2 separate regions of the Homo sapiens genome follow, and region 2 is linked to region 1. Evidence: promoter capture Hi-C in 16 types of primary human blood cells and fetal thymus (Javierre and others, 2016). All regions are on one chromosome and are shown on one strand. Each heading gives the region's core, a stretch centred on a gene start or on the middle of the fragment in contact. The rest is flanking DNA. Distances are from core to core; before and after follow the strand shown. Region 1 holds the start of OLA1 (Obg like ATPase 1). Region 2 overlaps RAPGEF4 (Rap guanine nucleotide exchange factor 4).

What was found. Contacts are between HindIII fragments. The CHiCAGO score rates a contact against its expected background, and 5 or more counts as called.
Region 2: a contact is called between a fragment that was not itself captured here and the fragment with the promoter of OLA1 in region 1, in 1 of 17 cell types (fetal thymus). The highest score is 7.9, in fetal thymus.

What each region holds. Positions count from the first base shown.
Region 1 is chr2:174,244,121-174,251,382 of GRCh38, reverse strand. OLA1 (Obg like ATPase 1) reads left to right here and starts at 2,851. Exons shown (of 11, transcript NM_013341.5): 1 at 2,851-2,931; 2 at 4,568-4,668. The coding sequence starts at 4,568. RefSeq lists a silencer at 2,546-3,065. The HindIII fragment of the contact is 2,463 bases long and covers 2,479-4,941 here.
Region 2 is chr2:172,968,802-172,976,172 of GRCh38, reverse strand. All of the region lies in intron 10 of RAPGEF4 (Rap guanine nucleotide exchange factor 4), which reads right to left. Among named protein-coding and RNA genes, the nearest start is that of MAP3K20, 100 kb to the left of the region's middle. The HindIII fragment of the contact is 818 bases long and covers 4,351-5,168 here.

The DNA of each region.
Region 1 (7,262 bases), core at 1,602-4,101:
CAGCCCCCGCCTCCCACGTTCAAGCGATTCTCCTGCCTCAGCCTCCCGAGTAGCTGAGATTACAGGTACCCGCCATCACACTCAGCTCATTTTTGTATTTTAAGTTGAGACGGGGTTTCATCATATTGGCCAGGCTGGTCTTGAACTCCTGGCCTCAGGTGATCTGCCTGCCTTGGCCTCCCAGAGTGCTGGAATTACAGGTGTGAGCCACCAGACCTGGCCTCTTGAGCTTTTTTTTTTTTTTTTTTTTGAGACGGTGTCTCGCTCTGTTGCCCAGGCTGGAGTGCAGTGGCGCAATCTCGGCTCACTGCAAGCTGCGCCTCCCGGGTTCATGCCATTCTCCTGCCTCAGCTTCTCCGAGTAGCAGGAACTACAGCTGCCCGCAACCACGCCCGGCTAATTTTTTGTATTTTTAGTAGAGACGGGGTTTCCCCAGGGTCTTGATCTCCTGACCTCGTGATCCGCCCGCCTCGGCCTCCCAAAGTGCTGGGATTACAAGCGTGAGCCACCGCACCCGGCAAGCTTTTTAAGTAATGGTTCCTCTCTATTTCCACAAGCAGCAGTGTGAATCCACTATAGAGCTTCATTACTAAAATATCAGTACATGATTCAGGAATCACTTTGAAGGGCTGTTCCTGAGAGTTATTTTCACAGTGGCCACAAAATTTGGGCTAGTTAGCCCTCTTTTTCATAGTTAAAGTGCACCAAGATAGCTGTTTTATACATATATAGTTTTGGTGACAAGGGTACTAGACCAAGAATATAAATAGGGCACATTAATATATAATATTAAGAAAAAGTAATACAAAACCAAATCAAGTTGCCTGTGTCCTTGAGAATTTCCAAAATTGTAGAGAAAGCTCTTTAACTCACCTCACTAGAGCACTGTTACAGGGCTAAGGAAAAGCCTTAATGCAATTTTATTATGAATACTGGCTCAGAGCTTATAGGGAGTCTCTATTTGAATGAATTCTCGTCTGGGTGCGGTGGCTCACGCCTGTAATCACAGCACTTTGGGAGGCCGAGGTGGGTGGATCACAAGGTCGGGAATTCGAGACCAGCCTGACCAACATGGTGAAACCCCGTCTCTACTAAAAATACAAAAATTAGCTGGGTGTGGTGGTGTGCACCTGTAATTCCAGCTACTTAGGAGGCTAAGGCAGGAGAATTGCTTGAACTCGGGAGGCGGAGGTTGCCGTGAGCCCAGATCACGCCACTGCACTCCAGCCTGGGCGACAGAGTGAGACTCCATCTCAAAAAATAAAAATGAATTCTCGCTGAAAGGAAACAGATTTTTCAGATAGTTTTAGTTTTACTTTTTATTTGTATTTATTTTGTTAGAGATAAGGTCTTGCTCTACACCCAGGCTAGAGTGCTGCGGCAGTGATCATAGCTCACTGCAACCTTGAGCTCTCAGGCTCAAGCCATCCTCTCACCTCAGCCTCCTGAGTAGCTGGGACTACAGGTATGTGCCACTACACCCAGCTAATTTTTGTTTTTTGGTAGAGATGGGGTCTCACCACGTTGTCCAGGCTGTTCTCCAACTCCTAGGCTCAACTGATCCCCCTATCTTGGCCTCCCAAAGTGCTGGGATTACGGCCAGATTTTCAGTTAGATTGTGGTTTGAAATATGCTGCTGCCATTTACTAGTTGTGTGACTTCATCCAAATTAATCAACCTTTCTGATATTGTTTCCTCACTTGTAAAATGGGGATGGCGACCTATTTACATCCTTTAATATTAATAGCAACTAATCCCTTTAAAAGGAGCTTCTAGTGTCACAATTTTTGGACAGGTATCATATTCATTACAACAAATACCTGAATGACATCTGAAGGCCAGGACCTAAATGAAAGAATTCCTTCTCCAGTGGCGCTCATGGTATTGATATGATGTGGGTGAGATGGGATGAAATCCTAATATTAACAACAGCGACTACTCACAAGCCTTTTCTGTATGTGCTGAGTACTGTTGTTATGAGCTCAACACGCATTGTCTCATTTTATTCTCACACGAATAACCTCATAAGGTGGTTTTAATAGCCTCATTTTATCCAGAACGAAATTGAAGTCCAGAGAAGTTAATTTGTCTAGGGTCATACAGTCAATGAGTGGCGAAATCCAGATTGGAAATTCCCAAATTTCAAAGGCCCCTGCTCTCAACTACCAAGAGGAAAAGGGGGGAAATTGGCTCAATTAAACGCATTCTGTGATCCAGTACCTGTGTGCGACGCTTTAACTATAAGGCGAGGAAGAAATCCCTAGACCAAAGTTTCCCTTAGCCCCTTTTCCTTCAAGAACTTTTAGTTAACAGCTTCTCTCCGCACAGACTGAGCGAATAAAGTTATAGAAAAGGGAGATGGGCTAGCGGCCACGCGGTCCTCGGGGCTGGTGTGGCTGTTTGCCTGACTTCAGACGCCCCGGATCTCCCGGAGGGAAGTCAGGGCCCAAGGCACTCCGCAGTCCAGCTGGGAAAGCTTGGGGCTGTAGGCCCGCGAGTGAACGTGAGCAGGTAACCCAGGCCGCGCAGCCAGACGGAAGCGGAGACCTAGAACCGAGAAGCCCACGTGCCGAAGCGGAAGACTAGAGCTCCCGGGAACGGCCTAGCCAGCGCCTTCCCCTCTCCAGCTCCCTGCCGCCGCGCGGCTCCTCCCACCCTGGGCTCCTCCCGCCCTACTCCCGCCTCCCCGGCCGGTTAGGCCAATGGGCGGGACGCGCGGGCAAGGCGGGGAGGGGCGGGGCCCATGGTCTGCGCGCAGGTGCCGCTCGGCGCCCGGCCCGCCCGTTCCGCCGCTGTCGCCGCCGTCGTGCGTGCCGCTCGGCGGAGGGGACGGGCCTGCGTTCTCTCCTCCTTCCTCCCCGCCTCCAGCTGCCGGCAGGACCTTTCTCTCGCTGCCGCTGGGACCCCGTGTCATCGCCCAGGCCGAGCACGGTGAGGCCCTCAGGGAGCCCGGGGGCGCGATCTCCGCCAGGTCTTCGGCGCCTGGGCTCATTGCCCTGAGGCTGGCGCGGGGCCCGGGCCCAGTGGCCAAGATGGGGCCAGGGCAGCGGGTGGCTTGGGGATGTGTGGATGAATGAGGCGCTGTCGGACTAGGCCGCGCGTCGGGAGATCGGCCTACGCCTCACGCGGGAAAGCCCTGGGGAAAGCCTTCTCCCGACGCCAGGACGCCCGGTGGCCCAGTCCGGAGAGGAGGATGGGGGGTGGGGCCCACTTTGGGTGGGCTGCCGGCCACCTCTCTGTAGGCCAGAGGACCCGACAGGCGCTGTTCCTGTATCTGTTCTTTGGAGGCCTGGGAGTTGGCCAGGAACAGGTGTCAGGACGCTGAGAAGGGAAATTCCTGGCCCTCGGGGTCAGGGATCAGAGGCTGGAATACTACTGCAAGGGCAGGGCCCCAGCGTGGTCCTAGGAGGTACAACTCTCAGCCAGAAGACTGGGACAGTTTTAGTTCCCAGCTTCTGAGACGTGAGCTTAGCGGTCTTTGTGATTTCACTTTGCAGTCCAAGGGTGGGAGTAATTCTGCACGCATGATTTGGAGACAGAACTAGTAAGGGACAGAGAAAGTTTCGACTTGTAAATAAAAAGGTTCCGTCGATTAATTTACCATTAGAAATAGTAACCATAATGTAGATTTTGGAGGTTGCTTATGAGGACTGATGAGCCGTACCTTCAGTGCCAAAGGTGGGAGGGACTTGGTGGAAGGACCCCAGTACCTGGTGGGTGTTCATCTATGTGAAAAATGGGGGTTGTGGGCGAATGGGAAAGATAAGATTCCAGATTATAGAGGAATGGTTTGGTGTGAAGGGTGACTTGGCTGCTGGTGGTTCCACAATGGAATTTTCTTTGACTGTCTTCTGTGTACTTGCTTCCAAATGCTTTCTTTCATATAACCATATATCAGGTTAAGATATAAAGTGTTTTGTGAGCAGTCTGGATGGAAGATTGGTAGCTAAACTCTAAGTTTATCTTTGATTCCTGGTGCCACAAATATTTTATTTATTTATTTATTTATTTAAGACAGAGCCTAGCTTTGTCGCTCAGGCAGAGCCCAGTGGCGTGATCTTGGCGCACCGCAACCTTCGCCTCCCGAGTTCAAGCAGTTCTCGAGCCTCAGCCTCCCGAGTAGCTGGAATTACAGGCTGCGCGCCTGATGGCCGGCTAATTTTTTTGTATTTGTTTTTCTTTTTAGTAGAGACGGGGTTTCTCCGTGTTGGCCAGGCTGGTCTCGACTCCTGGTCTCAAGCAGTCTGCCCACCTCGGCCTCCCCCTCCCAAAGTGCTGGGATTACAGGCCTGAGCCACCGTGCCCGGCCCAACAAATATTGATTTTAGATCAGTCTTTCTGGGACTTCTCAGCAATGACTCTTTTGACAACGGATATGTTTACAGAACTTTTTAAACATTTTTGCTGAAAAAAAAGTGGATTTAGCTCTGTGTTAGTTTTGGATCGCTATATACAGTATGTTTTGTTCTTAATCTTAATTCAATAATATATTGTATGTGATGAAATGTGTTTTGGGTCCATGTGGATAGTAAAAAGTTTTGTTCATATGTTTGCTTTGGTATTTCAGATGCCCCCTAAAAAGGGAGGTGATGGAATTAAACCACCCCCAATCATTGGAAGATTTGGAACCTCACTGAAAATTGGTATTGTTGGATTGCCAAATGTTGGGTAGGTGAACGTTGGGGCTTTTGTGATTTTCATTTTGTAAATATTTTGGGTCCTATTGTAGAAATGGGAACCGTGAGGTAATTAAACTTTAAGTTGAAGAAAAGAGGCCAGGAAGCTGGACTATTAATATTGCAAAATTAGGCTTTAGTTTAGATGTATTTTATTGATTTCAGTGCTGGTTGGCTATGTGTGGTACCTACATAGGCTGTCTACCAGAGGCCATGCAGTAGGCTACTTTAGGAAATTGATTTGAAAGCTCCACCATAATAAGCTTGATGGAGAAGGAGGTGACAGTTTTGAATTTCGTAGTGGAAATCGTAAAAGGTTTGCTGTTATAAAGAGTCTAAATCTGAAAGTTCTGAGAGCAGAAATTTGAGTTTTGTAATATTTTCTTTTCTTTTTCTTTTTTTTTTTTGAGATGGAGTCTCACTCTGTCGCCCAGGCTGGAATGCAGTGGCATGATCTTGACTCACTGCAACCTCTGCCTCCCGGGTTCAAGTGATTCTCCTGTCTCAGCTTCCTGAGTAGCTGGGATTACAGGCGCGCACCACCACGCCCAGCTAATTTTTGTATTTTTAGTAGAGACGGGGTTTCACCATGTTGGCCAGGCTGGTCTTGAACCCCTGACCTCATATGATCCACCTGCCTCAGCCTCTTATAGTGCTGGGATTACAGGCATGAGCCACTGAGCCCAGCTGTAATGTTTTCAAAGTTACAGTGAATTGAATATATGCAAATAAGAGAGTGATAGGAAATATATGTGGGGTTTATCATAACTCTATACACACGCAACTTAAGTGTTCAAAGTCTTCTTTTTTTTTGAGATGGAGTCTTGCTCTTTTGCCCAGGCTGGAGTGCAGTGACGTGATCTCAGCTCACTGCAGCCTCTGCCTCCCAGGTTCCAGCAATTATCCTGCCTCTGCCTCCCGGGTAGCTGGGATTACAGGCATGTGCCACCACGCCCGGCTAATTTTTCTATTTTTAGTAGAGACGGGGTTTTACCATGTTGGCCAGGCTGGTGTTGAACTCCTGACCTCAGGTGATCTGCCTGCCTTGGCTTCCCAAAGTGCTGGGATTACAGGTGTGAGCCACTGCACTGGGTCCAAGTGTTCCTTTTTCATTATTTATCCTTTCACTAACCTTAAAATATAAAACATCTCAAAAGTGATTAGGGTGTACTAATAGGTAGCAGATTCAGTGTGGATTTGTGAAAGTGATCAAGGGTGGCCTTTTAGATTGGTGGCAAGTAGGACAATCATGTTCTTAGGTATTCCGAGGAGCTCCTGTCATAGAGATTCCTCAATGAACAGAGCATGGCGTGACCAAGTGAGGCATGTCTTAAATTCATGTAATGTAAAACATGAGCAAGTGTGGCTGTCCTGATTTCAGTCTTTCCTGGAGCTTGAAGAGGTTTTCATTTTGAAGGGGTTTCCTGCTGTGATATAGTCTGCTTGCAGAGTAAGACTAAGTAGAGAGTTGAAATGTAAGCAAAACAAATAATTAATCAAAATACTGTAGGGTGCTATCAATAAACGTGAAAGCAAGCTATGATCATTATTTATGTTGTGAGCTTTATTGCACTAGTAAGGAAGTTAAGTTTTGAGATATTGACATACTTCTCATTCTAGAATTGTTGCAGTTACTACAACTTGATTTTAAATGGGACTATATTAAAATGGGCCATATTAAGTGTTTTCTGTACATATAGGCAACCCTCTGTATCTGTGGTTTCACATCCTTGGATTCAACCAATCTCAAATCAAAAATATTTTTTTAAAAAATTGGCTGGGCATGGTGATTCATGCCTGTAATCTCAGCACTTTGGGAGGCCGAGGTGGGTGGATCACTTGAGGTCAGGAGCTTGAAACCAGCCTGGCCAACATGGCGAAACCCCATCTCTACTTTAAAAAAACACAACAAAAATTAGCCGGACATGGTGGCAGGAGCCTGTAATTCCAGATACTCGGGAGGCTGGGGCAGGAGAAACAGCTTGAGCCCGGGGGGTGGAGGTTGCAGTGAGCCAAGGTCCCGCCACTGCACCCCAGCCTGGGTGACAGAGCGAGACTCCGTCTCAAAAAAAAAAAATTTTTTTTTAATTAAATAAAAAATGAGAATATAACAGTAAAAAAAATAGTAAACAACTATTTACCTATCATTTACATTGCATTAGGTATTATACTACACCATTGTATATAAGGGACTCAATCTGCTGGAATCTTAGAACCAATCCCCTGCAGCTATGGAGGGACGACCATAGCTTTTTAGTCATAGAGCATAATGAAATTAATGTACGTGGAAGTAACCTAAAAATATTTTATTATTCAGAATAAGTGTGTGTGCTGTTTACACTTTTAAATAAAATGCTTTCCCCTCCCAGTGTCATTGAGGTATACTTCACAAATAGTAAAATTCACTCATTTTAAAGGTACAGTTTAATGAGTTTCGGCAATTGTATTTGGTTGTAAACACTACTTTTTGTAGAATGATCTTACTTCACACAACTGTATCAGGTAGGATTCTTTGTAAGCAACACAATTCTGGCTGTTTTCAGCAGGAAAAAGAGGTTTATTGGAATAAGTGAATTACAATCTGAA
Region 2 (7,371 bases), core at 3,510-6,009, 1.3 Mb after region 1:
GTTCCCTTTCTAGTCCTAATAGCAGAGCTTGTGTACACAGGGATCCTTTTCTGCTTTGTGAAGTTAGAAATGAATACAGTCTATAACTGCAATAAAGGGCAAAAGCTTTATGAATACTTGTGAGAAATGAAGTCATCCCTGTCAGGACATGGGATAAGGGTTCCATAATTCATGGCTTCTGAGTGCTAAGTGTTTTTAGGACAATGTGGTTTGATCACATTTAGAAACTGTATATGCCCAGCATTCTTCCAGCAAAAGTGTTTACTACAAGGACACTCAAGAGTTTAACATTAAATCTTTTAAAAGGTACAAGTACAAATATTTTCCTTTAAAACACCTAAGCAACAAGTTGAGAAGAACAAATAAATTTGGATGGAGTCAGATAGTATAACTGCTTGCCTTTGAGGATGAAATATACATATGAGATGGAAAATGCAAATGTTTTTTGAGAAGGTGCTACATGAATGCATTGTTACTTCTTCCTTGCAAAATGTCAATTCTTAATTAATCAGGGACATAGATTATCCATATTTTGTGGTTATTTCACTGCTTATTCAGTAAATTCACTAGTGAGGACACACTTGAGGCAACCTAGGAGAGAGGAAATAATATTGTCAATGAAAGAAAAAAAGAAGAAATAAAATTGGACTTGGAGTAAGATTTGGATCAGTTCCTGGTTCAGCCACGTATACTGCTGTGTGATGTTGAGAAAGGCACTTGGTATTGATTAAGCTCAATTTCTTTGTCAGGACATAGTGGATTATCATGAGCCATACTTAATTCACAGAGCTTTTTAGTGGTTCAAAGAGGGGACGGATGTGAGACCACTATATAAACTATACAGTGGTATTCAAATATTAGTGATTAAGTTTTGTTTGTGGTTCTGGCTAGAGGGTTGCTGTGGAGTAAATTGACTCTTTCCAGAGCTGTGGGTTTTCAGTGTTTTTTATGTGATCTTTAGACTAAATTTTCCAGCAAGTCTTCAAAAGAGCTGTGAAGAGAGGCAGATTAATTATAAGTTGGGTGCCGGATTTGGCAAATAAAAATATTGCATGAAATATACTTATATCAGAACATTGTTTGTTATTCATCTGAAATTCCAATTTAACCGGGCATCCTGTATTTAACCTGGCAACCCTAATCATATGGCAATTAAAACTATAAAGCACTTCATTTCTGTGCAATCAGTTTGACAATGGATTGTAAAACTTTAGACCCATATGGCCCGTTGGATTCTGCTCCTGACAATACATAGTAAAACTCAGGACATAAGACAAAAATAAAAGAATTATAGGTTCCAGAAGCATGTAACTCCCTCAGGAAAGAATAATCTTCATCATCATTTTAACCCATTATGGATTAGCAGCACGCCTGGGAATCTGCCATACTAGAGGACTTTTTTTCCACAGTAGATGGTGAACTCCATTCTGGTCTATATGGTAATAATTTAATGAAATTAGATTAGTCTGTAATAATAATTTTATTTTTTTGAGATGGAGTCTCACTCTGTTGCCCAGGCTGGAGAGCAGTGAGATGATCACGGCTCACTGCAGCCTCCACTTTCTAAGCTCAGGTGATTCTCCCACCTCAGCCTCCTGATAGCTGGGATTACAGGCATGCACCATTACGCCTGGCTGATTTTTGTATTTTTTGTAGAGATGGGTTTTCGCCATGTTGCCCGGGCTGGTCTTGAACTCCTGGGTTCAAGTGATCTGGGTGCCTCAGCCTCCCAAAGTGTTAGTACTATAGGTATGAACCACCACACCCAGCCTTGTAAGAATTATTTTAAATTGGATTTCCCTGACACCTTTCCTTTCCAATGCTCAAAGCATAAACCCATGAGTCCATTCTGAAGCCCCTTTGGACGATGGCAGGTTATGGTAGTGCACAGTAAAGAGCACAGGCTCAAGAGTCAGGCAGATCTGAGTTGAATCCTGAGTCTAGTGTTTTGTGGATAACCATAGGCAAGTGACTCAGCCTAAGCCTCTGTCTCCTTGTCCATAAAATGGGAGTAATGTTAAATAACTACCTCAGAGTTTTGTTGAAGGAATTGAATTAAGTAATTGTTTAGCACAGTGTCTAGCACACAGATGCTCGATAAATGGTGGCTATAGTTAAATTCAGTTGGCACTTGTGTTTTCATTTCCAATCTATTGTGAAGTAGGGAGAGGGCAAGCAGGTATTATTGAATTCCTTTTATACCTTAAGAGACTTGTAATCTGAAGATGTTAGATGATATAATGATAAACTGGTAAGAATAGAACCCAGAGCTCTTGTGCTCAGTAGTATTTTCACTTCATTTACAAGACTCTTGGGTCAAATGCACGTATCTCAAAGGCTGTCATTTCAAACTATAACAAACATAATCTCATAAAACTCAGTATCTGGCTTTCTGTCTTTAGTTGGCCCCTCCAGTCTATTCTCTGGAGATAGCAGAGAAACCAACCTACTACAAATCTGATCACACCACACCTCTCTCTAAAACTCTTCAGTGGTGCCCCAAATGACTATAAAATAATACCCAACGTACACAGAGGGCATGGCAGATGCCCCCACTGACGTCAGCCTAACTCTCCAGCTGCATCTCCTAGTGCTCCTGTCCGGTCACTCCCTTGGTGTGAAACAGTTTACAGTTCCCTGCGGGAACTTTCCCAGCATCTTTCTGCCCCACCTGTGCCCCTATCTGGCTAGGAGCTCTTCCTTTGTTCTGGGAAGAAGAGTATTAAAATATTATTTTTTTGCTGCTCTTAAGAAGAAAGGTGCTCGGCCCAGTGGCTCATGCCTATAATCCCAATACTTTGGGAGGCTGAGGTGGGAGGATCGCTTGAGTCTGGGAGTTCAAGACCAGCCTAGGCAATATAATGAGACCTTGTCTCTATAAAAAACTAAAAAATTAGCTGAGCATGGTGGCATGCGCCTGTAGTTCCAGCTACTCGGGAGGCTGAGGTGGGAGCACCACTTGAGCTCAGGAGGTGGAGATTGCAGTGAACTGAGATCACCCCACTGCACTCCAGCCTGGGTGACAGAGTGGGACCCTGTCTCAAAAAAAGAAAAAAAAAAAAAAAGAAAAAAAAAGGGGCTTGAAAAACAACCTAAACATCCAACGATCACAAACTGAATGCATTAAAGAACATTCAGAGAACACACCTATTTAAAAGCTCCATCCTTAAAGGATATTTAACTTTAAGAGAGAATGCTGTGATATGTTATTAAGTGTAAAAAGTTAGGAATTAAAAAATAACTAAAGGGATAGGCACCAAAATGTTAACAGTAATTAACTGAGACATGTGATTGCAGGTATTTTTTCTTCTTTTTTAACTCTTGTCAGTGGTTTCCAAATTTTCTCCAATAAAGAGATCGACTTTAGCAATAAAAAGTCATTAAAACCTTGAGGCAATCTTATAATAAACTCTAAACTGTAGATGAGCAGCTAAGTTCATCCTCCCCTCTCCTGAATCTTAATCATAAAGGTAGCAATCCAATGGCTGGTTTCAGGCCATGTGGATATGAGGAATAAGAATAAATTGCTTTCATGGGGAGAGGCAGAGAAATGACCTACTTAATGCAATCATTTATTCAGGTAAATTCTACAAGCTTTCACTTGTGACGCCAAAATCTTTCCAGTAAAGACCAAGGTGAAGGTCACCATGCAGTGAAGGAAGGATTCGCCGTGACTGTCTTACTTCAGAAGCCTAGGTTCTTTCGGTCGTGCTTTTCTTCTCATCTGATTAACATTTGAGATGAACTTCGTAACTGTGGACATTCTCTTGACACATCCCAGCAGAAATCAAAACCCTAACCACCACCAATTTTAGGCTTGCTAATCTGGAATCCCCCGAAGAAACAAATCCCTCTATAATTACCAGGATTTTAAATTCCACACCCTGGAAAAGAGTTTAGACAAATAAAGATCCTATTAAAACAGGCACTGCTAATTAAGACACAATACACAGGCTCTCACGCGCCCTCTAGAGCAAGTGTGTGGAATCGAACAGCAGCAGGGTAGTCTCCACCCAGCCTCTGCAGGACAGCCTTGCATTAGGGCAGCCAATTAAGGGATAAACAATACCCTCCCCACCCCCGCCCACAGTATTTTGCCTTTATGTCATTTAATCCATCTTAAATTGTTGCCTTTCAACTTTACGCCCTATAGCATATGTTTGATATGAAGCCAATATATCTCACGTTTCCATATTTCTTAATGCCTTAGCAGAGTATGGGCAATAAGAAAACAAACAAAAAAACCATTTCCAGGACCTTTGAACATGCTCTCAGTTTTCAGGAGCAAGGTGTGTTCAGATGGTCTCTTCAAGACAACAATGATACTGGCAATTCTTGACCAACGAAGCTTGTTTTCTTTCCGTTTAAGTAAAATTAAATAGTAACTCCAAAGATTATTAGCAGATCAAAAAAAAAATGGGGTATGTGTGTACGTGCATGTAGAGTTGGACTGTCTGTCTCCTAAAATTAGATTCCTTACTTTTCACTTTCCCATCTCTCAGAGCTCTTATTCCAGCAGAAAGAGTCAAAAGAAGAAACTGCCAGCCCAATTCCAATGTTTAAAAAGTTTCAAAAAACCTAGGGAGATGGGAAAAATCCCAAGGGCAACTGAAATATTAATTTATCACATAAAATAAACGAACTCAAGTTTGTGTGTTTCTGACCCAGTTGGAAGATTCCCCAACTTCTAACAATTCTCTTATATATACATATATTTCTCTCTGCTCGGGCCCAAATGACTTTTCTCTTTCTCAACTTACTTAGGCTTCTACTGTTAGGCATTTTCAGAACTGCAGACCTAAATTTTGATTTGGGAAACAGTGTCTACTTAACTGTCCTCCCAACTTTAGGCTGGTCTCTGATAGACCATCCTGAACATTGGAACCTATGTCTCACTTTACTTGGAAGGAGTGGTTGGAAGGCTTGTACAGCAGAGCGTCCTGTCTCCTTGAAGCCTCTTTTTTATCCACAGTTGGCCTCAAGTTTACAATACTCTGTTTACCTAGTCACTCCAGATCCTTTTACTCATATTTCTCTAACCAAAGTACCTGCTCAAAGAAAGCCAAAATGCACATTTCTACTGGTAAGAGTACCCATTATATCTACTTGCTATAGGGCAACCTCTTGTTTTTAGATTTATAAACAAAGCAAAATCAAAACAATAAGCTTGGAGAGCTCATTCAGTGTTTGATGGCCCTGTCTCAGAGCTACAACAACAGCACCGTCAAACTGTCATCGTTCTGTAGCACTTGCCCCCAAATGCCATCCAGGTCTGCACCTGCGAAACCAGGACGGGCATTGTGAGTCACTCTGTCTGCCACCACATAAAAAGCTAATTTCACATGCAGAATGTATGTGTTTTTTTTCAATACCAATAGCAACAAGAGTGTGCCAAAAAATTTCCCCTGAAGCTCTATTCTGTTTTTTAAACTACAGAACATTCTTTCATAGTTTGACAGTTAAAATGCTGCAGTTAATGTAATAAACAGAGAATTTTTCTAAGTAGCCTGTCAAAACAAGTGACACTTTTTTTTTTTGCTAGCAAGTCTCAGATTCAGAACAATAGGAAGTACCTTTCAAAGCAACATCTTCATTATACAATCAAATTCTCAAAGTAATCTTCTCATCAAAGAATATTGTGTTATTTCTTTCCCAGTAATTATCAGAGTTCTGCAACCTCTCTGGCAGTGGTGACTATTATAAAATGCAGCCGTGCTGAGTTTAAAAGTTGGGGGTCCTGCCCTGGTCAGTATGAAGCCAATGCATCTCATGCCTCCACATTTCTTAATGACTTAGCACTTTCGGCAGTAGAAAGTCAACATTTCCAGGACCTCTGAACATGCCCTCAGTTTCCAGGAGTGAAGTGCTTGGTTGGTCCCTTCAAGGACAGTAGTGATACTGGCAATTCTTGATCAACTAAGCTTGTTTTCTTTCCACTTAAATAAAGTAGTAGCTCCAAAGATTATTAGCAGATCAAAAAAAAAAAAAAAGGGTGTGTGTGTGTATGTACATGTAGAGTTGGAATATCTGTCTCCCAAAATTAGATTCCTTATTTTTCACTTTCCCATCTCTCGGGAGCTGTTATTTCAGCAGAAAGAAAACTGAAGAGTTCCAGAAGTGCCAGCCCAATTCCAACGTTTGCAAAGTTTCGAAAAACCTAAGAAGATGGGAAAATCCCAAGGCCACCTGAAATCATGTATCTTGGAATATTTGTAAAACCTGTACTTTAACAACTAGCGATATAATGGAAGAGTGTCAGTTTTGGAATGTAATATTCTGTGAAGAATCTGGGCTGCCAGGGATCATGCGATTCAATGGTGTATGGACAATAAAAGGAAGCACAAGCAGCGACTCCCATTTCTCCCAAGGTGACTCATGAAAACAAGCTCTCATGTCTCTTGAGAAGGCTAAATCAAACAATTAGCATGAATGTTCCTAGCATACAGCAGGCACTCAATTGATGATTGTTGGATCTTAATCTAATTTGGGGATTCCTCTCCCACTGAATTATAAACTCCCCAAGGGCAGGAGCCATTTCAAAAACATTTGTGAATCAGATGGCATTTTTGCCTCCCTTGAAGCAAGTAAGAGCTGAGGGAACATTAGCTGGGACTGTGTATTCACACTTCCATTCATTCATTCATTCATTCACTCACTCAGCAAAGGTTTACTGATGGCTTATGTGGTGTAATGCACAGAGCTAGGGATACGGCCTTACTAAGTTCCACACCAGGTTAAACCCTCCTCCACATTAGGCTGTGCCAACACACACTACATCTTCCTCCATAGCATGTAATGCAGCTGTGATTAAATGATTGCTTGCATAAGTAGTTGCTTAATCCTCTGCCCTAGACAGAAAACTCCAAGGAGGAGAAGCCTTCTTGTTCAATGTTTACCTTAATGCCTTAGCACCTAACATAGTATCTAGAACAATGTAGGTACTCAATAAATGAACAAATGTAGTAAAATGAGATCTGTCTTTGCCTTTAAGAAACTCATGGTTGACTGCAATATTTCTCCACACGGGCATTGTTCTCAGGACAGCTCTTTATTGTGTTGGGTTCCTAGGTACTGCAGTGTGTTTGGCAGCCCTTGGTCCTAGCCACTGCCCAGTGAGTGCTAGCAGTGGGCCCCCTCCTGTGCTTTGACAACAGCCCTTAGGGGGCTGTCCCACCTTGATTCAGAACCACTGCATATGTTGGCTTGGATGCAGGTGGCAGCAAGGAGGACAGCAAAAAGGGGATGGACCCAGGAAATGATGAGGAAATATGCAGGAGGGACAGTGGGACAAGAGGGGACAAGAAAGAAAACATGGCTTAAAATGGTGGTGTTCATCTGAGTTCCCCAGGCCCCAGGGATTCTCTTGTGCCC